Linked DNA regions of Homo sapiens: region 2 is linked to region 1. The links are contacts of gene promoters, found by promoter capture Hi-C in blood cells and fetal thymus (Javierre and others, 2016). All regions are on one chromosome and are shown on one strand. Each heading gives the region's core, a stretch centred on a gene start or on the middle of the fragment in contact. The rest is flanking DNA. Distances are from core to core; before and after follow the strand shown. Region 1 holds the start of CEP250 (centrosomal protein 250). Region 2 holds the start of NCOA6 (nuclear receptor coactivator 6).

What was found. Contacts are between HindIII fragments. The CHiCAGO score rates a contact against its expected background, and 5 or more counts as called.
Region 2: a fragment that was not itself captured here is called in contact with the fragment with the promoter of CEP250 in region 1 in 4 of 17 cell types (fetal thymus, endothelial precursors, total CD8 T cells and 1 more); the score reaches 8.4 in fetal thymus.

What each region holds. Positions count from the first base shown.
Region 1 is chr20:35,453,969-35,458,786 of GRCh38, forward strand. CEP250 (centrosomal protein 250) reads left to right here and starts at 1,630. Exons shown (of 35, transcript NM_007186.6): 1 at 1,630-1,783; 2 at 4,336-4,406. It overlaps MIR1289-1 (microRNA 1289-1), which reads right to left and starts at 129; the gene lies at 1-129. It also overlaps a transcript of GDF5 not described here. RefSeq lists enhancers at 565-614, 875-1,024 and a silencer at 1,045-1,424. The HindIII fragment of the contact is 4,927 bases long and covers 694-4,818 here.
Region 2 is chr20:34,824,899-34,829,983 of GRCh38, forward strand. It overlaps NCOA6 (nuclear receptor coactivator 6), which reads right to left and starts at 753. Exons shown (of 15, transcript NM_014071.5): 1 at 574-753. RefSeq lists silencers at 220-659, 670-859. The HindIII fragment of the contact is 3,463 bases long and covers 1,180-4,642 here.

The DNA.
Region 1 (4,818 bases), core at 380-2,879:
GAATCACCCTGGGTACTTTCTAAAATGCAGATTCCTGGACTCCACCCCCGGTTTAGGGATTCTCTGGGGGTGGAAACCAAGAGTCTGCATTTACCAGTTTTGTTTTTAATTCCTACTAAAAATTGAGAACCACTGAGTGCAAGAGTGAGGCAGGTAAATGGAGTTTACAACTCTAAGAAAGTGCATTAACAATTTATACACAAGGCCGGGCGCGGTGGCTCACGCCTGTAATCCCAGCCCTTTGGGAGGCCGAGGCGGGAGGATCACGAGGTCAAGAGAGATCGAGACCATCCTGGCCAACATGGTGAAATCCTGTCTCTACTAAAAATACAAAAATTAGCCGGGCGTGGTGGCGGGCGCCTGTAGTCCCAGCTACTCGGGAGGCTGAGGCAGGAGAATTACTTGAACCTGGGAGGCAGAGGTTGCAGTGAGCCGAGATCGTGCCAATGCACTCCAGCCTGGCGACAGAGCAAGACTCCATTTCAAAAAAAAAAAAAAAAATTTATACACAAAATGCTACAGGAATAACGCATGGGTCCTATTGGGAAGAAAAAGTTCTCTAGAAGTCAGGCTTAAGCAGAACTGCAGCTCCGGGACGGATTAAGTCAGGTAAAGGTAACACTCTGTGCAGAGACATGCAGACAAAACCGAGTGTTGAGTAAGTAACTCGCCTGTAAGTGTTATGCTGCCTGAAGCTTCTCGGAGCGTCTGAGCAGCAAGGTGAACAACCCTCAGAAACCGGTCGCGCTGCCAGTATTATCGCTAACCAGTGGCAGCGAGCCCCTTTGTTTCTCGGCAGTTGTAATTGTAGTCTGGTTTGTAGGTGGAGCTGTGCGCAGGCGCACCTAGAACCAGGTGACCTTGCACATGCGCTGTATGTAACACTGAAGCCAAAAGCGAAATGATTGAGGGCAATTTTTCTTTTCTGCTTCCGAAATGTCCCTTTCGCGAATCCAGAGACCCTGACCGTCCCCATTTCTGGCTAGGGATCTTATAATTCTTAAAATAATACCCCCTTTCCTTCAGGGCCTCTCTAGTAAGTCGGCTGCCAATACCCAACATGGCGGGAGGCCCTGCGCCGGCTCAGTCTGCCTATAGGTGCAGGACTTGGAGGGGCGGGCCCCTCCCAAAGGGCGGGAGTTTGGGGGGGCGGGGCCTGGCCCTCTGCCTCGGGGTGGGCTCCGCCCCCGTCCCCCGCAGGGCCTTAGCAGCGGCTGCCGCAGCTCAATCGCGGAGCAACTAGCCGGGCGTCTGCGGGAGCCGAGCGTGGTGAGGTGGGGCCTCAGGGGCAGGTGGGAGGTGCTCGGGTTAACCGTCCGAGGCCCGGAGACCCGCCCGTCTAGGGCGCCTGAGGGAATCCCGTTCGGGCAGCGGCCTCTTGTTACCCGGGAGGAACCCGAGGCCCAGAGAGGGGCTGGGACGCGTCGTTAGGGCCCGGGGCCCGCTTGCCTCAGCTTCTTGCTGCCGCCAGCACGCTAAGCTCCAGTCGGCGCCGAAGGAGAGCTTCCCGACCCTCGTGTCCAGTAGCCGCAATCCCAGGCTGGGAGGGTGAGGCGCCGCGCTCTGCCGCCCCCCCGCCCCTCGCTCCCTGTGTCCTGGCGGATTTGCACGTAATCTATCCGAAAGCCCAGTCCCACCCGCCACCCGACTCTGGAGCTCCCATTCTTCAGGACCCTGCTGAAGTATCGCTTCTCAGCCGCCTTCTCCAGGCGCAGCTGCATTCGCTTCTCGGTTTTTGCACTCGCTGTGCACCGAGTTACTTTCCCGGCCCCTCGTTGACACCGTAAGCTCGTTCGTTAGATGTTATGCCTTGCCTTTTTCATCTCTAGATCCCAGGGCCTAGCACGTGATGATAATAGTCATGGCTTACTGTACGGAATGATCACAAATTGTCAGGTGCTACTGAATGCATTACACATAAGGGCCCATTTATTTATTTATTTAGAGACGGAGTTTCGCGCTTGTTGCCCAGGCTGGAGTGCAATGGCGCGATCTCGGCTCACCTCAACCTCCGCCTCCCGGGTTCAAGCGATTCTCCTGCCTCAGCCTCCCAAGTAGCTGGGATTGCAGGCATGCGCCACCACACCCGGCTAATTTTATGTTTTTAGTAGAGACGGGGTTTCTCCATGTTGGTCAGGCTGATCTCGAACTCCCGACCTCAGGTGATCCGCCCGCTTCGGCCTCCCAAAGTGCTGGGATTACAGGCGTGAGCCACCGCGCTCAGCCAAAGGCCTATTTAATCTTCCCAACAATCCTATGGGGTGAGTTCTTTCTATAGCTTCACGTTTTACCCATGAAGAAACTGAGGTATTCATAGAAAAAGTAATTTGCCAGGAGTCCCACAACTAATAAGTGGATGGAGCTGGGAAACTGTCCCCAGGGCATTTGATGACTTGACTAGATTGCCTTTGGGTTTAATCAACGTCTGTTGAATTGATCTTTACTTTGGCCCTGGGAGTTATTGGAGGCTAGGCTTGTGATCAGTATTTTACCGCGAAGGCTTAGAAAGGAGAACTGGTCCCAGATTTATAGAGGTCACAACAAAACCAAGGCTACTGGTACGCCCTCTGTTCCTTTAGTTCTTCTATCTTTCTTTGCTCCTTTTCGATCAGAAAGCTGCAGACATAGGTGTCATTATCGCTCACTATTTAAGAAGTGCCCCTCACAGAGCTGTGAGTTCGTAGTCCATGCTTTAACTAATGTAATGTTCATGCTTTAACAGCTAATGTAATGGAGAGAGTGTAGAATTTGGAATCAGATTGGGGTTCAGTCATTGCTCTGCCACTGACCAAGCTATAAGTTATATGCCTCCCCCCACTTTTTTTTTTTTTTTTGAGACCTGGTCTCAGTCACCCAGGCTGGAGTGCAGTGGTGCGATCTGGGTTCACTGGAACATCCTGTCTCCCAGGTTCAGGCGATTCTCCCGCCTCAGCCTCCTGAGTAGCTGGGATTACAGGCGCCCGCCACCGTGCCTGGCTAATTTTTGTATTTCTAGGAGAGATGGGGTTTTGCCATGTTGGCCAAGCTGGTCTCGAACTCCTGGCCTCAAATGATCTGCCCAACTCAGCCTCCCAAAGTGCTGGGATTACAGTTGTGAGCCACCACACCCAGCCTGTTTTTTTGCTTTTTATATAGGTAATAGAGCTGTTAGCATTTTGCAAGACCATTGGTGATAATATGGATCATGTTACCTAATGTCCTATAATAGTCAGTAATAATGGGCACTTGTTATAAACCAGGCTGTGTTTTAGGTAGGAGCTGGGAATACAGCATTCGATAAAACAATGCTTTTGCACTTGTGGAATTTGCATTTTGGTAAGTATATTACATAATAATTAGATAGGGACAGAAAAAGCATGGTAAGGTAAATAAAAGTACTAGTGTTATGTGGAGAGGTGATAGTATTTTATTTATTTATTTATTTGAGCATCTTGTCCCAGGCTGGAGTGCAGTGGCGTGATCACAGCTCACTGCAGCCTCGAACTCCTTGGCTCAAGCAGCCCTCCCACCTTAACTTCCCAAGTAGCTGGGACTACAGGTGAATGCCACACAGCCAGCAATTTTTTTTTTTTTAATAGAGATGGGAATCTCCCTGTGTTGCCCAGGCTGGTCTTGAACTCCTGGCCTCAAGAGATCCTCCCACCTTGGTGAAACTCTGTCTCTACTAAAAATACAAAAAAATTAGCTGGTCGTGGTGGCACATGCTTGTAATCCCAGCTACTCAGGAGGCTGAGACATGAGAATTGCCTGAACCGGGGAGGCAGAGGTTGCAGTGAGCTGAGATCATGCCAGTGCACTACAGCCTGGGTAACAGAGCCAGATCCTGTCTCAAAAACAAAACAAAACACTGGATGAGATTACCTTGGAAATTAATGGAGATGGAGAAGAGGTCTGAAGCCTTGAGGTTTCCAAACTTTAGATACTGGGGAGATGAGAAAAGGCAGCAAAGGAGACTGAGTGGGAGAGGCCAGAGGTTGGAAGAGAGCAACAGAGAGGCCCCACATGAGATTTAAATAAGGAGCTGCATGCTAATTTGTTTTTTTCAGGAGTAAGAAACAAATTATGTCTGTACACAAATGTCTATACTGTAGTTTCTTTCTCAGTAAATAAAATGTTTGTGTCCTCAAGTATTTTTCTGTTTTTGCTTTAAGTGACAAATTCTATTTAATACCATTCTGCATCTTAGTCCTTGTAGCATTTATGCCTCTATTCCAAGTTTAGGTGGTAGTGTTGCTTCTCTTTTAAACTTTATTTAAATACTCCTTTTGTAGTATTTTGGATGAGAGAGGATCAAATACATAATTTATCTCACTCTTCTGTCACTTTCCACTCCAGGTTCACAGGTGGCTGTTGGTCTTTAGTAAGGGTGCTGTCTTCCCTGTCTGATCCTTAGCAAAAGTAGGAAGGTAGGTCTTGTTCATTTCTGTACCACTGTGGCAGACTCCTGATACTGAGTTGAAATTCATGAGTGTTTATGGGATAAATTAATGTACAAAAGAAATGAATCTTTCCCTTTTTCCTGCAGTAATGATAACATTGGCTCAGTGGTTTACAGCTTAGAAGTACACTGACACTCATTATCTTATTTAGATGTAATCCAATTTGTTAGTTTGCCAGCTACTGCTCTTTTCCCTTTCTCAGGCACATTGAAATTTACTTTCCCTTTGGGGGCTCTGCTAGTTTATTCCTAGCAGATCTGATCTGGCAGTGTGTTTGTAAAAGGATGCTGAACTGTGTCTTGAGGAAGCTCAGAATGAAATCTGAATTTCAGAAAGATTCCTGAGATAATTTTTCTCTGTCTCTTCTCTTTTATTCTTG
Region 2 (5,085 bases), core at 1,661-4,160, 630 kb before region 1:
TCCCAGCAAAGAACTGCTCCAGCCCTGACAGCCTGAGCTTGGCCCCCATGCCTCCACCCCAATCCCCAGGTCCTACCTGCATTAGGGCTCTAACACCGCCTAAGGCCTAACCCAGTTCCACGTCCTGCCATCCTCTCAGCCCATAGACCCCAATCCCGGTTCCCTTCGGACCCAGTGTTCCTTCTCCGCGACCCTGACCACGACCCCACGACCGGCTCCCGCCTGTTCCCCAGGCCTGGAGCGCCACCCCGTGCAGACCCCGGCCAGCCCTGCACTCCCTCAGTGCACCGGCCCCCGCGCCCAGCACCCTCCCCACCCAGCCCGGCCGCCGCTCCCTCCAGCGCCCCCGCCCGCAGGCCTGGGGCCCGCTCCCCAACATGGCGACGGGGACACAAGCGCGGCGGGCGGGGCGGCTCCGGGCCGGGCCCGCTCTCAGACCGTGCCACTCGGTCGCCCGGCGCCATTTTTCCGCGCGGGCCCGGGCGGCGCCTCCTCCCCGCGAAGCCAGCCCGACAAGGACCGCGGACGCCCGGCGGGCCCACCCCTTACGGGCCCGCGCCGCCGTCCCCTCACCTGAGCGCGGCCCCGGCCCTCCCGGGCGGGCCTTGGAGCGCCGGCCCGGGCCGTGCGTGCCCGCCGCCCTCGGTGCGTCCGTCCGTCAGTCCTCGCGTGCGCCCGTCTGTCCCGCCGCCCGCGCCCGGCCGCCCGCAGCCCGACCCGGCAGGGCCTCACGGAGCCGGCGGGGAGGGGGATGGGCCGGACCGGGCCGGGGAGGGAGGGGGAGGGAGGGAGAGAGGGAGGGAGCGCGAGAGGGGGCGGGGCGGACTCGAGGGGCGGGGCATTGCCCACGTGACCAGACGTCCCCGGGAGCGCGAGGTGGAGCGCGCGCCAGCTCCCTTCGGTGCTGAGTGCTTAGTGCTGGGATCTCGTGGGTCTCTGTCGGCTTTCCAGGGCTATTCTCTCGCCAGTGAGTCCCACTTCGGAAGCACACATTGCACAGTCTTTTGCGAGCGCTCTGAGTATCCTTGGACATGGCAACTCCAAGCCTCAGTTTACCCATCTGAAATATGGGGAAAATCATAGTGCTTGTGAAGAGCAAATGGAGGTGGGCTTGGAAAGCACTTGTCACCGTGCCTGACACATACTGTCTAATAATAAGCTTAATGGGATATAGATAAAAGCTTTCATTATTATTTGCCTCTAAATCCCTCTCTTCTTTTTCCCATCATTACCTCCCTAGCAAGCTAAAATGCTCAGTAAATAGAATTATTGATCGAACGAGTGTGGCCCCTCCCCTCTTCCCAAACGTAGAAAGGCCTCCTCAGCACTGGACTTCATGTCTGTCATACAGGCCTGGATTCATATCTGGCTTTCACTCTTTTTTAAAAATTTTCTGTTTTTTCCCACACTACACTGATGTATTTTTTAAATTTTCGTAAGTACGTAGTAGGTGAATATATTTATGGGGTACATGAGATTTTGATACAGGCATGCGATGTGTAATCACATCATGGTAAATGGGGTATCTAGCAACTCAAGCATTTATCCTTTGTGTTACAAATAACCCAATTATACTCTAGTTATTTTAAAATGTACAAGTAAATTTTGTGTGTGTGTGGTTTTTTTTTTGTTTTTTGTTTTATTTTTGTTTTTTTGAGACGGAGTCTCACTCCGTCGCCCAGGCTGGAGTGCAGTGGCGCGATCTCAGCTCACTGCAACTTCCGCCTCCCTGGTTCAAGGGATTCGCCTGCCTCAGCCTCCTGAGTAGCTGGTACTACAGGCGCATGCCACCACGCCCAGCTAATTTTTGTATATTTTTTAAGTAGAGATGGGGTTTCACCATATTGGCCGGGCTGGTCAGGAACTCCTGACCTCATGATCCGCCCGCCTCTGCCCCTCAAAGTGCTGGGATTATAGGCGTGAGCCACCGCGCCCGGCCAATTGTTTTTTACTGTAGTCACCTTCTTGTGCTAGCAAATACTAGGTCTTATTCTTTCTAACTATTCTTTTGTACCCGTTAATCATTCCCACTTCCCACCTACCTCCCCATTAATCTTACCAGCCTCTGGTAACCCTCCTTCTATTCTCTATCTCCATGAGTTCAATTGTTTTAATTTTTCGCTCCTGGCCCGGCATGGTGGCTCACGCCTGTAATCCTAGCACTTTGGGAGGCCAAGATGGGCGGATCACCTGAGGTCAGGAGTTCAAGACCAGCCTGGCCAACATGGTGAAACCCTGTCTCTACTAAAATACAAAAGCTAGGTGGGCATGATGGCGGGTGCCTGTAATCCCAGCTACTCAGGAGGCTGAGACGGGAGAATCTCTTGAACCTGGGAGATGGTGGTTGCGGTGAGCCTAGCTCGCGCCACTGCACTCCAGCCTAGGTGGCTGAGTGAGACTCCGTCTCAAAAAAAAATAAAAAATAGTTAATTTTTTGCTCCCACAAATAAGTGAGAACATGTGAAGTTTGTCTTTCTGTGCCCGGCTTCTTTCACATAACATAATGACCTCCAGTTCCATCCATATTGTTGCAAATGACACGATCTCACTCTTTTTTAATGGCGGAATAGTATTCCATTGTGTATATGTACATTTTATTTATCCATTCATCTGTTGATGGACACTTAGGTTGCTTCCAAATCTTGGCTGTTGTGAACAGGGATGCAGTAAACATGAGAGTGCAGATCTCTTCCATACACTGATTTCCTTTCTTTCCGGTGTATACCTAAGAATGGGATTGCTGGATTGTATGGCAGCTCTCTTTGGCTTTCGCTCTTGATAGCTGTCCTTGCCTCTCTGAACTTGAGCATCTTCATCTGTAAAATGGGAGTTGGGGTCTGTTCTGAGCATCCCAGGAGATAGAGGATGAGCAGGTGGATTGTAAACTAATTAAACAAATCAGTCCTACTGATCCCATAGAAGAAAGGGAGTCAGGAACCCTTTCATTCCATCAATATTTATTGAGTACACACAGTGTGCTTGGACTGGTGTAGTAGATACCCACCATCTTTTCACATTACCCTGACCGCCCTCTAATCTATTCTCCACCCTGCTGTCAGAGTAATGTTTCTAATGATCAGAAATATGATCATGTCACTACTCTACTTAAAAGTATCTGTTGATGGCCAGGTGCAGTGGCTCACACCTGTAATCCCAACACTTTGGGAGGCTGAGGCAGGTGGATTGTTTGAGCCCAGGAGTTCAAGACCGGGCTGAGCAACATGGCAAACGCTGTCTCAACAAAAAATACAAAAATGGCTGGGCTCAGTGGCTCATGCCTATAATTCCAGCACTTTGGGAGGTCGAGGTGGGTGGATCACGTCAGCTCAGAAGTTCGAGACTAGTCTGGGCAACATGGCAAAACCCCATCTCTACTGAAAATACAAAAATTAGCTGGGCATGGTGGTGCACACCTGTAGTCCCAGCTAATCGGGAGGCTGAGGCATGAGGCAAGAATCACTTGAGCTGGAAGGTGGAGGCTTCAGTGAGCCGAGATAACACCACTGCCCTCCTGCCTGGGTGGCAAAGGGAAACCGTGTCTCAAAAAGACAACAAAAGACAAAAACATAGCAGGCATGGTGCTGCACACCTGTGGCCCCAGCCACTTTGGAGGTTGAGGTGGGAGGATTGCCTGAGCCTGGGAGGTTGAGGCTGCAGTAAGCTAAGATCATATCATTGCACTCCAGCCTGGGCAATAGAGTGAGACCCTGTCTCAAAAAAAAAAAAAAATCTGATGGCTCTACATTGCTCTTAAGATAAAGGCCAAGCCGGGCGCGGTGGCTCACGCCTGTAATCCCAGCACTTTGGGAGGCCGAGGCGGGCAGATCACAAGATCAGGAGATCGGACCATCCTGGCTAACACGGTGAAACCCCGTCTCTACTGAAAATACAAAAAATTAGCCGGGCGTGGTGGCAGGCGCCTGTAGTCCCAGCTACTCGGGAGGCTGAGGCAGGAGAATGGTGTGAACCCAGGAGGCGGAGCTTGCAGTGAGCCGAGATCGCGCCACTGCACTCCAGGCTGGGCGACAGAGCGCGACTCCGTCTCTAAAAAAAAGATAAAGACCAAATAAATGTTGGCCTCCCCACATCTCTAGATTTATCTTAGGGCCCTCTTCCCCTTTCTCTGGGTTGCAACTACAGTGATATTTCTTACACATTGTTCTCCCTCCTTTCTGAGAACCCTTGCACATGCTGATCCCCCTGCCTGCAATGCTCTCCCCACTTAGATAACTCTCAGTCTTCAGATCCCAGTTCAAACGGGGCTACTCCAAGGATACCTTCCCTGACCCATTCCCACACAGGTTTTCTTAGCACGATATGCTTGTCCTTAGTAGAATACACTGAGTCATTATTACCTGTCTTTGCCACTAGACTATGGACACCATAAGGAAGAAAACCTTATCCATCTTGTTTAACATTGTTTTCTCAGCATATAGCACAGCACCTGGCACAGAGTAGGTGCTCAGTAAGTATTTGTTGCGTTTGTGAATCCTAAGCACAATACTAGGTATTGGGCCCAAGAGGGCAGACAGGAGCAAAGAGAACCACAGGCAACCGCAACAGGGGGGCACCTTAGACCTTTGAGCCTATGAAATTAACACCAAATAAATTTAAAATATCCTGGAAAAAAAAACTTTTCTGAAGCTTTTTATTTTAACTTTTAAAAACTGAAATATAATTTATATACAATAAAATGAAAAACTATTAAGTGTATATCTAATAATTTTTTTGCCTACATTCCTGTGTTACCACCACCTAGATCAAGTTATAGATCTATCAACCCAGAAAGTTCCCTTTTGTTCTCTTTTGTATGTTCTCTTCTAATAAATACCTGCTCCCCCAGATGTAACCATTATTCTGACTTCTAGCACCATAGATTAACTTTTTTTTTTTTTTTGAGATGGAGTCGCGCTCTGTCGCCCAGGCTGGAGTGCAGTGGCACAATCTCGGCTCACTGCAAGCTCTGCCTCCCGGGTTCACGCCATTCTCCTGCCTCAACCTCCTGAGTAGCTGGGACTACAGGCACCCACCACCACGCCAGGCTAATTTTTTGTATTTTTAGTAGAGACGGGGTTTCACCGTGGT